3 separate regions of the Homo sapiens genome follow, and all the other regions are linked to region 1. The links are contacts of gene promoters, found by promoter capture Hi-C in human tissues and cell types (Jung and others, 2019). All regions are on one chromosome and are shown on one strand. The core of a region is centred on a gene start or on the middle of the fragment in contact, and the rest is flanking DNA. Distances in the headings are between cores, read along the strand shown. Region 1 holds the start of TNS4 (tensin 4). Region 2 has its middle 3.5 kb from the start of LINC00974. Region 3 has its middle 5.7 kb from the start of GAST.

Region 1 (3,441 bases), core at 82-2,581:
CTTCAGCCTCCCCTCACTTTTAAGGCTCTGCGTCGCCCTTGGATGTACCAAGGCAGGGCTCCATCTTACTCCTGTATTCCTGAATGCTGCCCCCTTCGCGGCCCCGCACACTCCTCTAACTTGCTCTTTCTTGCTGTAAGTGGTGGGGAGAGTCCCTGGGCCCGGGGCTCTGTGTGGTTGGGAGGCACGGGGCGGGGGCAAGGAGGGCTCCAGCCACCTCTGCTCTATTTGTAGGTGCCCCCTACCCGCTCCCACTTCTGATTCTGACTCAGATCTCTTTCTTTGTTCCCAAGGACTCTGGGGAGTCCTGGTGCCTTGGCAAATCCCCTCTTCCGTGTCATTGCCAACCTCTTCTCCTGACTTACTCTCTCCCAATGAGCCCAGGTCAGTGAAGGGAGAGGGTGGGGCAAGGGTAAAGCCTGAGTCTCCCCCAAAGCACTTTGCCTCATTAGCCCAATCTCCACTGCACCCCCTATTTTTGAAAACTGGCTCCCGATCTTCCCATCCCTCCCACCCAGACCCGGTGACGCAGGACGTGGACCTCAGGCAGGGACCCATAGGACCAGTGAAGGCCAGCCGCCCCATCTCCCAGTCCTGTCTACCTCTGAAGTGCCCAGAGGGCTCCCAGAGCGCTGGGAGGCGAGAGGCCTGGGTTCTGTGTCCAGTCCCTTTCCATGACCTCAGGCAAGCCTCTTCTCTGTGGCCCTCAGCTCTCTCATCTATTTGCCGAGGGGCACAGGTTTAGTTCCCTTGAACTGCTGAACTCCGCGGTCTGTGATCCTGAGACCATCTCTGTCTCATCCACATCCTCCACCCCATTTCTCCCCACCTTCACTCTGAGCCCTGAGAAATGGAGAAGCTGAAGACAAAAGGTTAAATGAGGCTGGGCTCACGCCTGTAATTCCAGCACTTTGGGAGGCTAAGGTGGGAGGATCACCTGAGGTCAGGAGTTTGAGACCAGCCTGGCCAACATGGTGAAACCGCGTCTCTACTAAACATAAGAAAATTAGCCGGGCATGGTGGCAAACATCTGTAATCCCTGTTACTTGGGAGGCTGAGGCAGGAGAATCGCTTGAACCCTGGAGGCAGACGTTGGCAGTGAGCCGAGATCGCGCCACTGCACTCCAGCTTGGGTGACAGAGCAAGACTCCATCTCAAAAAAAAAAAAAAAAATGTTTAAATGAATCAGGGCCAGCAAAGGTGCTCCGTGTTCCTCTCTTCTTAAAGAATAAAGGCACCTACCTGGTGTCCACAGGTGGGCAGACTGTTGCCTTCACTACTGGCTCCTGGGACCAAGACGACTCAGAGTCCAGGTGAAGAGTCAGGAGAGGCGCCAGTTCACCTCCAGACCTGCCTTAAAAGCAGCTTGCCCGCCTTCTCTCCTCCCCTCCGGGCGGGCCCTGCACGTGGCCCTGACAGCAGTAGGCCCCACCCCTGCTGGATCCAGTGAGCTCAGGTGGGGCTGGCACAGGCAGCAGGAAGGGAAGCACTGGGTGGTGGGTTTTGGGTCTGGGTGTGTGTGAGGGGCTCCCAAGTTCCTGCTTGGGCTTCTCGTGGCACCACATGGCCAGGGAGTCCTTGCTTGGACAGGGCATAGCTAGAATCAAGGTGTGCAGTGGGCACTCCTCAGGTGCTGGCTGGGGCAGAGGCCATGGGTTGGCAGAGCTGGCAGAGAGTGAGGGCCTTGACAAAGCAGGATGCCAGTGGGCAGGAGACCCTCTGCAGTCCCCCTTTGTGCTGGGTCACACTGGGACAGGCACAGGGTAAGGGCCCACTGGAAGTAAGGCTAGGCACGAGCTTGTCTTTTCTTCTTTCTCTCCTTTTACAGTAATGACTCTAGCTTGGGATGGGGCCTCTAACTCAAGGAAAGGAGGCTGAAGTGTCTGGAGGGCTTTGAGAAGGGGCTTATAGCTGTTCCTTCACTCATGGGCTATCTCTGTCCCTCGTCTGGTCTGTGCCCCAGGGTGGAAGTTCCCTGAGGGGAGGACATTGGAGGGTGAGATCAGGAAGCCCAGAAGTCTGGTCTGGTAGCTCCTTCTCCATGGTTCCAACTCTCTCCCTGTTCTAGAGGGGCAGGGGTCCTAGAATGTTGTAAGGAGGTGTTCAGACATGGTGAGGGGAGGGTGCTGATGGCAGAGCCTGGTCTGGGAGCGGTCTGAAGTGAGGGAGCTGGCGAAGTCTCCAGCCCAGGGACTCATGGTGATCCCAGTAGGCTAATCTCAGGGGTGGGTTGCCCCATGCCCCCATTATGCCCAGTGGAAGGGCTTCTGGCCTTACAGTTTTTGATGCCCTGGGGTTTCACTGAGGCATGGTGAACTAGTGCATGGGAGGCCGGTGAGCAAAGCTATGGAAAGTTATATAAGGTGCCCCTTCCTGATGGTGACATAAAAGGTGTCCCTAGGTGTCCATGCAGCCTTGTTGGCACATGGCTTGATGAGCAATTATGTCTTTGGATGAAAAATGTGGTGCTCCTGCCCTGGAGTGGATGTCACTGCACATGGCGGCTTCCCCCATGAGGCTGTGGCTCATGATTGTGGGAGAGTGGGAGGGGCGACTCGTGAGTTTCTTGAGTGGAAGGGGCAGGTTACAGTAGGGCGAAGTGTTGGGCAGAGACTGTGGCAACTCCGGGGTAACCCTGGCCATCTCCCCTGGGGCTGGTATGGATAGCCTCTGCAGTGGTTCTTCAGGGCCAGGGGGTCCTCCAGCCTTACAGACCCATACCTGGGGGTTATGGTCTTTCTTGGCAGATTGGCTCTTTTGTTTCACACCCAGCTGCTTCCTTTAGCTTAAGATGGTCTCAGAACAGTGATTTCAGCCCCAGCTGCCTCACAAACCCTGCCCAACACCACATCACTGCCCTTTGCCGTGATCATCAAGGGATGGATGGAGTGGCATTTCTTTATACATCTATAGATATGACATTTTTTCTTTAGCCTATGGATGTGATAGATTACATTAATTTACTTTTGAATTTTGAACCCTCCTTGCATACCTGGGATGAACCCCCTGGTCATGGTATATAATTCTTTTTTTTTTTGTGATGGGGTCTTGCTATGTTGCCCAGGCTGGTCTCAACCTCCCGGACTCAAGTGATCTTCCCACTTCAGACTTTGGAGTAGCTGGGATTACAGACATGTACCACTATGCCTGGGTCTGTATAATTCTTCTAATACATTGTTGGGTTCAATTTGCTAACATTTTGTGGAGGATTTTTGCATCTATGTTCATGAGTGATATTGGTGTCTAGTTTTCTTTTGTATCTCTGGTTTCAGCAATGCTGGCCTCATAAAATGAGTTGGGAAGTGTTCCTTCTGCTTCTATCTTCTGAAAGAGGTTGTAGAGAAGTGGTCCTATTTCTTCCTCAAATGTTTGGTAGATTTCACCAGTAAAACTGTCTGGTCCTGGTGCTTTCTGTTTTGGAAGGTTATTAATTATTAATTC
Region 2 (3,800 bases), core at 511-3,010, 1.1 Mb after region 1:
ACAGAATTTAGTAACAAGTGTGATTACTGGCATGAGACTTCTAAAAGATCTCCGTTTGGGTGTCCAAAAGACAATGTAAATTTAGCATGTCTGAAACTGACTCCCCATCTTTCATACCAGCCAACTTCCATCCCACAACTCCTATCATCCAGTTGCTCAGACAAAAGACTCAGAGACCTCCTTGACTTCTTTCTTTTACAATATGCAGTCCTTCAAGAACTCCTGGCAGTGCTTTCTTCAGATGATGCTCAGAATCCAGCCACCTCTGACCGTCTTCACTCTGAGTGCCAGGGGCTCTTCACCTCCCTGCACACTGGGCTCTCTGTTTCTGCTCCTAGCCTCGCAGCCTCTCATCAAGTGGCCTGTCACTCCTCTGCTCAAGGCACTGTGTGTTAGGATGATCATCAGCACTAGCTGCTGTGCCTGGAGTGGTCCCCACACACGCTTGACTGCCTCCCTCACTCCGTCAAGTTGATACAGAAGGGCTGGGCTCCTGGCTAAACCCTACCCTTAAGCCTGGAACCTCGGCCCTAAAGGACCCCATTTTCCCCAAAAATGTTACCTTTTTGGCCTGCCTGCCCACATGCTGTGCCCATAAAAGACTTCAGCTGGCAGAGCAACACAAGCGGCTGAGCACTGAGGATATAAGCAGCTGAGCGGCGAGCAGAAAAGCAACTGAGCATCGGAGACTGTGGATAGATCTGGCTAACTTCAGATGGTGCAGCTTTGGAGAGGGGCCCTGCCGGAGACGGTGGGGCTTCAGGGAAAGATCACCATCCCATCACCTTTCCATCCTCCCTTTCCACTGAGAGCCACCCAACACCCAGTAAAGTATTTTGCATTCGTCACCTTTCAAACAGTTTATGTGACCTGATTCTTCTTCCTGGACGCCAGACAAGAACCTGGGTGCCAAGAAGGCAGGGGCTGCCACCCTGAACCTCCATTGAACTGGTTGGTATTTGGCCATCCCCTGACAGCACAGCTGAAAGAATAGGGACGCTGCTGCAGGGCCCGAACAGAGCCTGCTCCTGCCAGAGAGGAGCAACCGGCTGGTTCCAGCGTTCATTTGCTCCGGTTCCCACACTTGCTCACACACTCACTCCCACAAGGAGTGGCCAGCAACAGGCTGAGTGAAACAAAGTGCTCCTTAGCTGGGCGTGATGGTGTGTGCCTGTAATCCCAACATAAGAAACCCCATCTCTACTAAAAATACAAAATTAGACGGGCTTGGTGGCCCGTGCCTGTAATCCCAGCGACTCGGGAGGCTGAGGCAGGAGAATCACTTGAACCCGGGAGACGGAGGTTGCAGTGACCTGAAATCTCACCACTGCACTCCAGCCTGGGCAACAGGGCGAGACTCAGTCTCAAAAAAAAACAAAACAAAAACAAAAAACAAAGTGCTCCAGTTCCCGCCCATGAAGGGCGTCAGGGCAACTATTCCATCGCAAAGTCATTGCTTATGTTTTACCTTCTCAGTGAACCCAACCTTGGCCATCCTATTTAACATTGCTCTCCTCCCCACCCTGCCATAGCACTCCAATCTCCCTTGATATTCCCTACTTCTTTGCGCACTTACCACCTTCAAGTATAGTATTATTTATTTCTTTATTACATTTGTTGCTCTTGCCCAACCCTTACCTATAATGCAAGCTCTATAGAGGCAGAAATCTTTGTCTCTTTTGTTCATTGATATATCCCAAGCACCTAGGACAGTGCCTGGCATAAAAGGAGCTTGATACATATTTATCCAGTGAAGTTTGTTGAATGAATGACATGAGAATCACTTTGGTTATCTGGCCTAGATGGGCCAGTGAAAATCTGGCTATGATTAAAATGAGCTTCTAGAAGCCCACAGCATGTGAATTAAATTGGAGTGGGCTTGTTTCTTTTAACTGTACTGAAGAGCTTAGAGAAGGAGTAATACACTTGAAGTTCTAAGTTCCTGATTCTGTAGACAGTCAGAGGACCAGGGACTGTCCACAATTATTCTTTAAAAATATCTCATTTCTTGTAGCTACAATGCTGAAGTAGTTAATAAACTCAAAATTGACTTCTCCAAGTTGAAATCACAACCTTGCCAAGTCTCTTATATAAAAGTTAGAGCACTGATCAGGAAAGAGGGACACCCACAGAATTGGAACAGGAAGGTATTAGAGAATTTAATAGACTCCAAACTCCAAATTATCTTCACACTCTACCCTACCACCCTTCATTGCTTTCAGAATTATAAATAAGCCAGATGCCAGCATACCTGGGGGAAGAGGCCAATTACAAAGACAAAGCTTAGAGAAAAAGATTTACACACCAGGAGAATTTCAAGCTGCTGCTAACCTGTATGAGCAGAAATGTGAAGACTGGGATTGGGAATGAATTTTTGAACCAGCTCAGTTAATGTGCAAGCATTCACCAGAGACTGGAAGTTCAGCTACTAGCTTAAATATCTGGAAGTGGATCAGAATGGTTGCTCAGTTGGATGACAGAAACTGAACTCAATAAAGGCTTATTTGAAATAAAGTTATTTCTAGAAAATCCTTTTTGTAATAAAGAAAAAGGAATCTGACTGCCTAGGGAGACAGGAATGTTGGGGTAGAATTATTGCGTGGAATCCATTCACTCATTCACCAACTGTGAGAGCCCAGAAGACACTGTGCAGACTCTGGCTTTTAAGAAATACGTGGATCGGGGGAACACAGCATCTTTGAAAAACACAGTTAACAGTTGTTCTCTGAGGATGTGGATGAAATATGCTGCAGTTGAATTAGGCCTCCTGATTTGAATGGAGATGACATCTCAGGTACAACACGGCAAAGGTGAAGAGCTGGACTAGGATAAAATCTGTAGGAGTCTGTGATGGTGGGTCTCTAGGACAAAAATACATGAGCAGACCACCAGTCAGGGTTCAGTTTTTTGGTTTTTGGTTTTTGGTTTTTGGTTTTTTGTTTTTGTTTTTTTTTTTGAGATGGAGTCTCACTCTGTCGCCCAGACTGGAGTGCAGGGGTGCAATCTCAGCTCACTGCAACCTCCGCGTCCCAGGTTCAAGCGATTCTCCTGCCTCAGCCTCCCGAGTAGCTGGGATTACAGGCACCCACCACCATGCCCAGCTAATTTTTGAATTTTTAGTAGAGATGGGGTTTCACCATGTTGACCAGCCTGGTCTCAAACTCCTGACCTCAGGTAATCTGCCCGCCTTGGCCTCCTAAAGTGTGGGAATCATGGACATGAGCCACCGTGCCCGGCTAGGGTTCAGCTTTAAGTAACAGAAACCAATCTCACTTTCTTAACAGAAATAAATTTAATACAAGGCATTAGGTGCTTGCAAAATCATTAGAAGGCTGAAGAAACAGACTCTATATTGGGCTTCTGGGCATGGCTTCCATATTAACACCACAGAAGTGGACCCCAAGGGAACTCTTGGTCTGCCACAATCAGAAAACTTGGGAATCAGGAAGCCACTACCAGACATGTTGGCCCCAGGACCATACAGTATACCTGGCAGACCTACACAAAGAAAAAGCATTTAACTTTTCCCCCTCTACTTCTCTCTCCACTCAACTCATGACTCACAGAGTGCATCTGATTGGAAAAACCTAAGCTATGGCTGTAGGGGAATCTGGAAAAGGGTAGATTTTAGATTACCAGCCTCTTGAGTATAGGAAAGCTCATCAGAAGGATGTTGAAACAGATAGGAGTGAGTCAGTCTTCCATATCTGCCACATTCACTACCCCGCCCCCACAAAAGAAAACTTTAGGTCAGTAAGAGACCTGTCTTGAGCCCCATGATTCCAATTCCAAAATCGGAA
Region 3 (3,962 bases), core at 646-3,145, 1.2 Mb after region 1:
CTGAGTGCCTCTTAGGGGCAGGGACCCTGGCTGATTCTTCTTGGGTCCCCCAGAGCCCCACATTGAACGAGAATCCACAGGTATGGGCAGGATAATATATGGTAGGGTTCATAGCCAGAGTAACCTTTTTTTTTAATTTTTATTTTATTTTATTTTTGAGATGGAGTTTCGCTCTTGTCTCCCAGGCTGGAGTGCAATAATGAGACCTCAGCTCACTGCAACCTCTGCCTCCTAGGTTCAAGCGATTTTCCTGCCTCAGCCTCCCAAGTAGCTGGGATTACAGGTGCCCGCCACCACACCTGGCTAATTTTTTTGTATTTTTAGTGGGGACGGGGTTTCACCATGTTGGCCAGGCTGGTCTTGAACTCCTGACCTCAGGTGATCCACCCGCCTCGGCCTCCCAAAGTGCTGGGATTACAGGCATGAGCCACCGTGCCCAGCCTCAGAGTAAGCTTTTTAAAAGATAAACCGTGTCACACTCGGTTTTAACGTTGCAATGTTTCCCAGTGCACTTAGAATACAACCTGAACTCCCTGCCACAGCCCTGAAAGCTAGCCCTGAGGTTCTCCTCCCACTGTGCGCCAAGTGGCTTCCTTCTCTTTGTCCTCTCGGTCCTTTCCCTTACACAGACACGCCATGTTCTCTCTTGCTCAGAGCCTCCGACCTTGCCATTCCCTGTGCCTGCAACGCTCTTCCCCAGGCACAAATATGGTGGGCTCCCCTTTCCTCCTTAGCTCTTGGGTGAAATGCCTCTTCCTGAGAGACCTACCCTTTCTGCTCCTCACCCTTCACACATAGACCCAGTTATTCTCTACCACAGGGTCAAATAAAAGAGAAAAAATTAAGCTTTTTAAAGAATGAATGCTAGTTGTATTCAGAAGTCTTACAGAGGACTATAGATTGAGGCCTCCAGCCCAGGAGCAGGCTCTGGCACAATGTTTCAGCCCATTGCTTATATACATCTGGGGGCTAAAGGTGGAGGTTCCGTATGTGCAAAATCCCATCAGACTTGCTCAGAATTACATGACAGCAGAATCACAGCAAGATTTGGGTCCTAGATCACAGAGGCATCATCACTAACCTCGTCAGATGTCATCTTGGAAATGTTCTGTGTCAGAAAAGCCAGGGACTAGGATTATTTCTCTTTTAAGAAACGTGAAGACTCAAGCCGGGCGCAGTGGCTCACATCTGTAATCCCAGCACTTTGGGAGGCCGAGGAGGGTGGATCACTTTAGGTCAGGTGCTCGAGACCAGCCTGGCCAACAAGGTGAAACCCCGTCTCTACTAAAAATACAAAATTTAGCCAGGCATGTGCCTGTAGTCCTGGCTACTCGGGAGGCTGAGGCAGGAGAATTGCTTGAACCCGGGAGGCAGAGGTTGCAGTGAGCCAAGATTGCGCCATGACACTCCAGCCTGGGCAACAGAACAAGACTCTCTTTCAAAGAAAAAAAAAAAAGAAGAAGAAAAGAAAAGTAGTGACTCAGCCAAGAGACATGGGAGGGCCTCAGGCTCTCTCCTGTGCTGTCTTCAAAGCATCTTTCCGGAGGGCTGCACGTCTGTCTCTAGTCACAGAGTCAGGTGCTTTGTGAAACTGTGCCGACAAGCAGAAAGGAGCAAACACAGCTTCTTAATGTTTGTTGCTTTGTCTCACAATAGCAGAATATTTTCTTTAGAACACATTTCACAATCTGTAGTTGTTTTGTTTGCCAGTTTATTGTCTGCCTCTCGGGCAAAACAGGAAACTGGGAGCGTGACAAGTCCCTCCTCCCTTCTGTATCCCCGGTGGCAAGAATAGGAGGAACCCAATAAATATTTGTAAATAATTGCTCATGAGTGGCTGGTGCAGGCATTGCTGGTGTCTCACTCCATTCCATCATTGTTCTTGTGCCTGTTGACACCATTACCTTGAGCTACCCGCCACCTGAGGGCTGTAGAGGAGGGAAAGTGTTTTCTCTACCCATCTTAGGTCCTCGGCTGGGGCTCTGTTATAAAAGACAGATTACAAGAGAAAAGCAAACAAGTTTATTAACATGTGTATCACACATTTAACACACAGAGTACCCAGAGTTGAGTAACTCAGAGAGGTAGCTTAGAATTCAGGCTCACACTGTCTACGGCCATACCACCCTGAACGCGCCCGATCTTGTCTGATCTTGGAAACTAAGCACGGTGGGGCCTGGTTAGTACTCAGATGGGAGAATTCAGGCTCACAGAGCATCTTCAACAAAGAACAATACATTTGTAGGCAAGATAAAGGACAGCAATTTTTAGACTTCCAAGGGTGGCTAACTGTGTGTGGGAAACAGCTTTCTGCCCGTGGGAGCTGAGCCCTGTCCCCTCTCAGGGCTGGGTCTGGTAGCCAGTGGGCCTCCCCCGGCTTCTCCTGCCCCCCTGGGCTGCCATGTGACCCACATCCGGCAGTCACAGCTCTTGTGCCAGCTGCAGAACAAGGGCTGGGGTTCCTACCGCCTGTCCCAGAAGAGGGCTGAGGTCCAGGCCCCCAAGCTCCAGCCTAGGTTAGACTTCCAAGGGTGGCTAACTGTGCATGGGAAAGCAGCTATATGGAAAACGAATGGTAGATAAAGGCTAGTGAGTCAAGTTTGTTATTAGATTGCACTGGTGCCACTCCAGGCTGAAAGGGGTCTAAAGTTGTCTCCGACTTGTTCCAGACATTATGGAAGGAAAACGTCCTACGTAAATGAAATTGTCATTCTGTGTCCTCCCACCACAGCAGCAGATGTGTCCTTCCGTTGAGTGAGGGTAACCTTACGTCCACCAAGGATACTTGGAGAAAGTCTATGAGGAGCAAGCTTCAGTCCCACGGTTTCAGACTATTTATGCTCTGAACACAAGAGTACTGGTTAATTATGTTCTCAGCTCTCCTCGCTGTTCTAAGTGTGCACTTGTTGCAAGTAACTTATATTTTTTTATTTGAATGTATTTTATTTTTTTGAGACAGAGTCTTGCTCTGTCACCCAGGCTGGATTGCAGTAGTGCCATCTCAGCTCACTGCAACCTCCACCTCCCAGGTTCAAGCGATTCTCCTGCCTCAGCCTCTCAAGTAGCTGGGATTATAGGCAGGCACCACCATGCCAGGCTAATTTTTGTACTTTTTAGTAGAGGTGGGGTTTCACCATGTTGTCTAGGCTGGTCCTGAACTCCTGACCCCGTGATCCACCCGCCTCAGCCTCCCAAAGTGCTGGGATTCTCTAGGTGTGAGCCGCTGCACTCAGCCTGAATGTATTTTAAAGCAGTAGATAGAATAACAAAGGAATATGAAAACCATGGATTGAATGGACCATTTTATGTATTCAGAGAGACGAGCCACCATCATTGCCAGAAATACCATGTAAAAATTGGCAATTTGGCCAGCCGCAGTGGCTCACGTCTGTCATCCCAGCACTTTGGGAAGCCAAGGCAGGCGGATCACCTGAGGTCAGGAGTTCGAGACCAGCCTGACCAATACGGTGAAACACTGTCTCTACTAAAAATACAAAAATTAGCTGGGCATGGTGTTATGCATCTGTAATCCCAGCTACTCAGGAGGCTGAGACAGGAGAATTGCTTGAGCCCAGGAGGCAGAGGTTGCAGTGAGCTGAGATCACGCCATTGCACTCCAGCCTGGGAGACAGGGCGAGACTCTGTCTCAAAAAAAAAAAAGGCAATTTGGAGATTGCAGTATTTAGTAAACAAATAAATGATCAACATTGTGCAACCACTACCAAAAAGTGTATTGTAATGCATCAAAAATCAACATTTTATTCACTAATGAGTATCAATAAAATAAGTCCAAATTATGGAAACCAAAAAAATAATAAAAAATAAAGTTGTCTCCAGATATTTAACTTTTTTTTTTTTTTTTTGAGACAGAGTCTCACTCTGTTGCCCAGGCTGGAGTGCAGTGGCACGATCTTGGCTCACTACAAGCTCTGCCTCCCGGGTTCATGCCATTCTCCTGCCTC

Evidence for each region. The method cuts DNA at HindIII sites, captures the fragments that hold promoters and counts their contacts. A contact is called where the count stands out against the background at its distance.
Region 2: a fragment that was not itself captured here is called in contact with the fragment with the promoter of TNS4 in region 1 in 1 of the 25 tissues and cell types used here (bladder).
Region 3: a fragment that was not itself captured here is called in contact with the fragment with the promoter of TNS4 in region 1 in 1 of the 25 tissues and cell types used here (pancreas).

What each region holds. Positions count from the first base shown.
Region 1 is chr17:40,500,292-40,503,732 of GRCh38, forward strand. It overlaps TNS4 (tensin 4), which reads right to left and starts at 1,332. Exons shown (of 13, transcript NM_032865.6): 1 at 1,243-1,332. The HindIII fragment of the contact is 10,438 bases long and covers 1-3,441 here.
Region 2 is chr17:41,556,098-41,559,897 of GRCh38, forward strand. No RefSeq gene overlaps it. Among named protein-coding and RNA genes, the nearest start is that of LINC00974, 3.5 kb to the left of the region's middle. The HindIII fragment of the contact is 8,519 bases long and covers 1-3,800 here.
Region 3 is chr17:41,716,045-41,720,006 of GRCh38, forward strand. It overlaps a transcript of HAP1 not described here and the pseudogene RNA5SP442. Among named protein-coding and RNA genes, the nearest start is that of GAST, 5.7 kb to the left of the region's middle. RefSeq lists a silencer at 1,413-1,707. The HindIII fragment of the contact is 4,495 bases long and covers 1-3,962 here.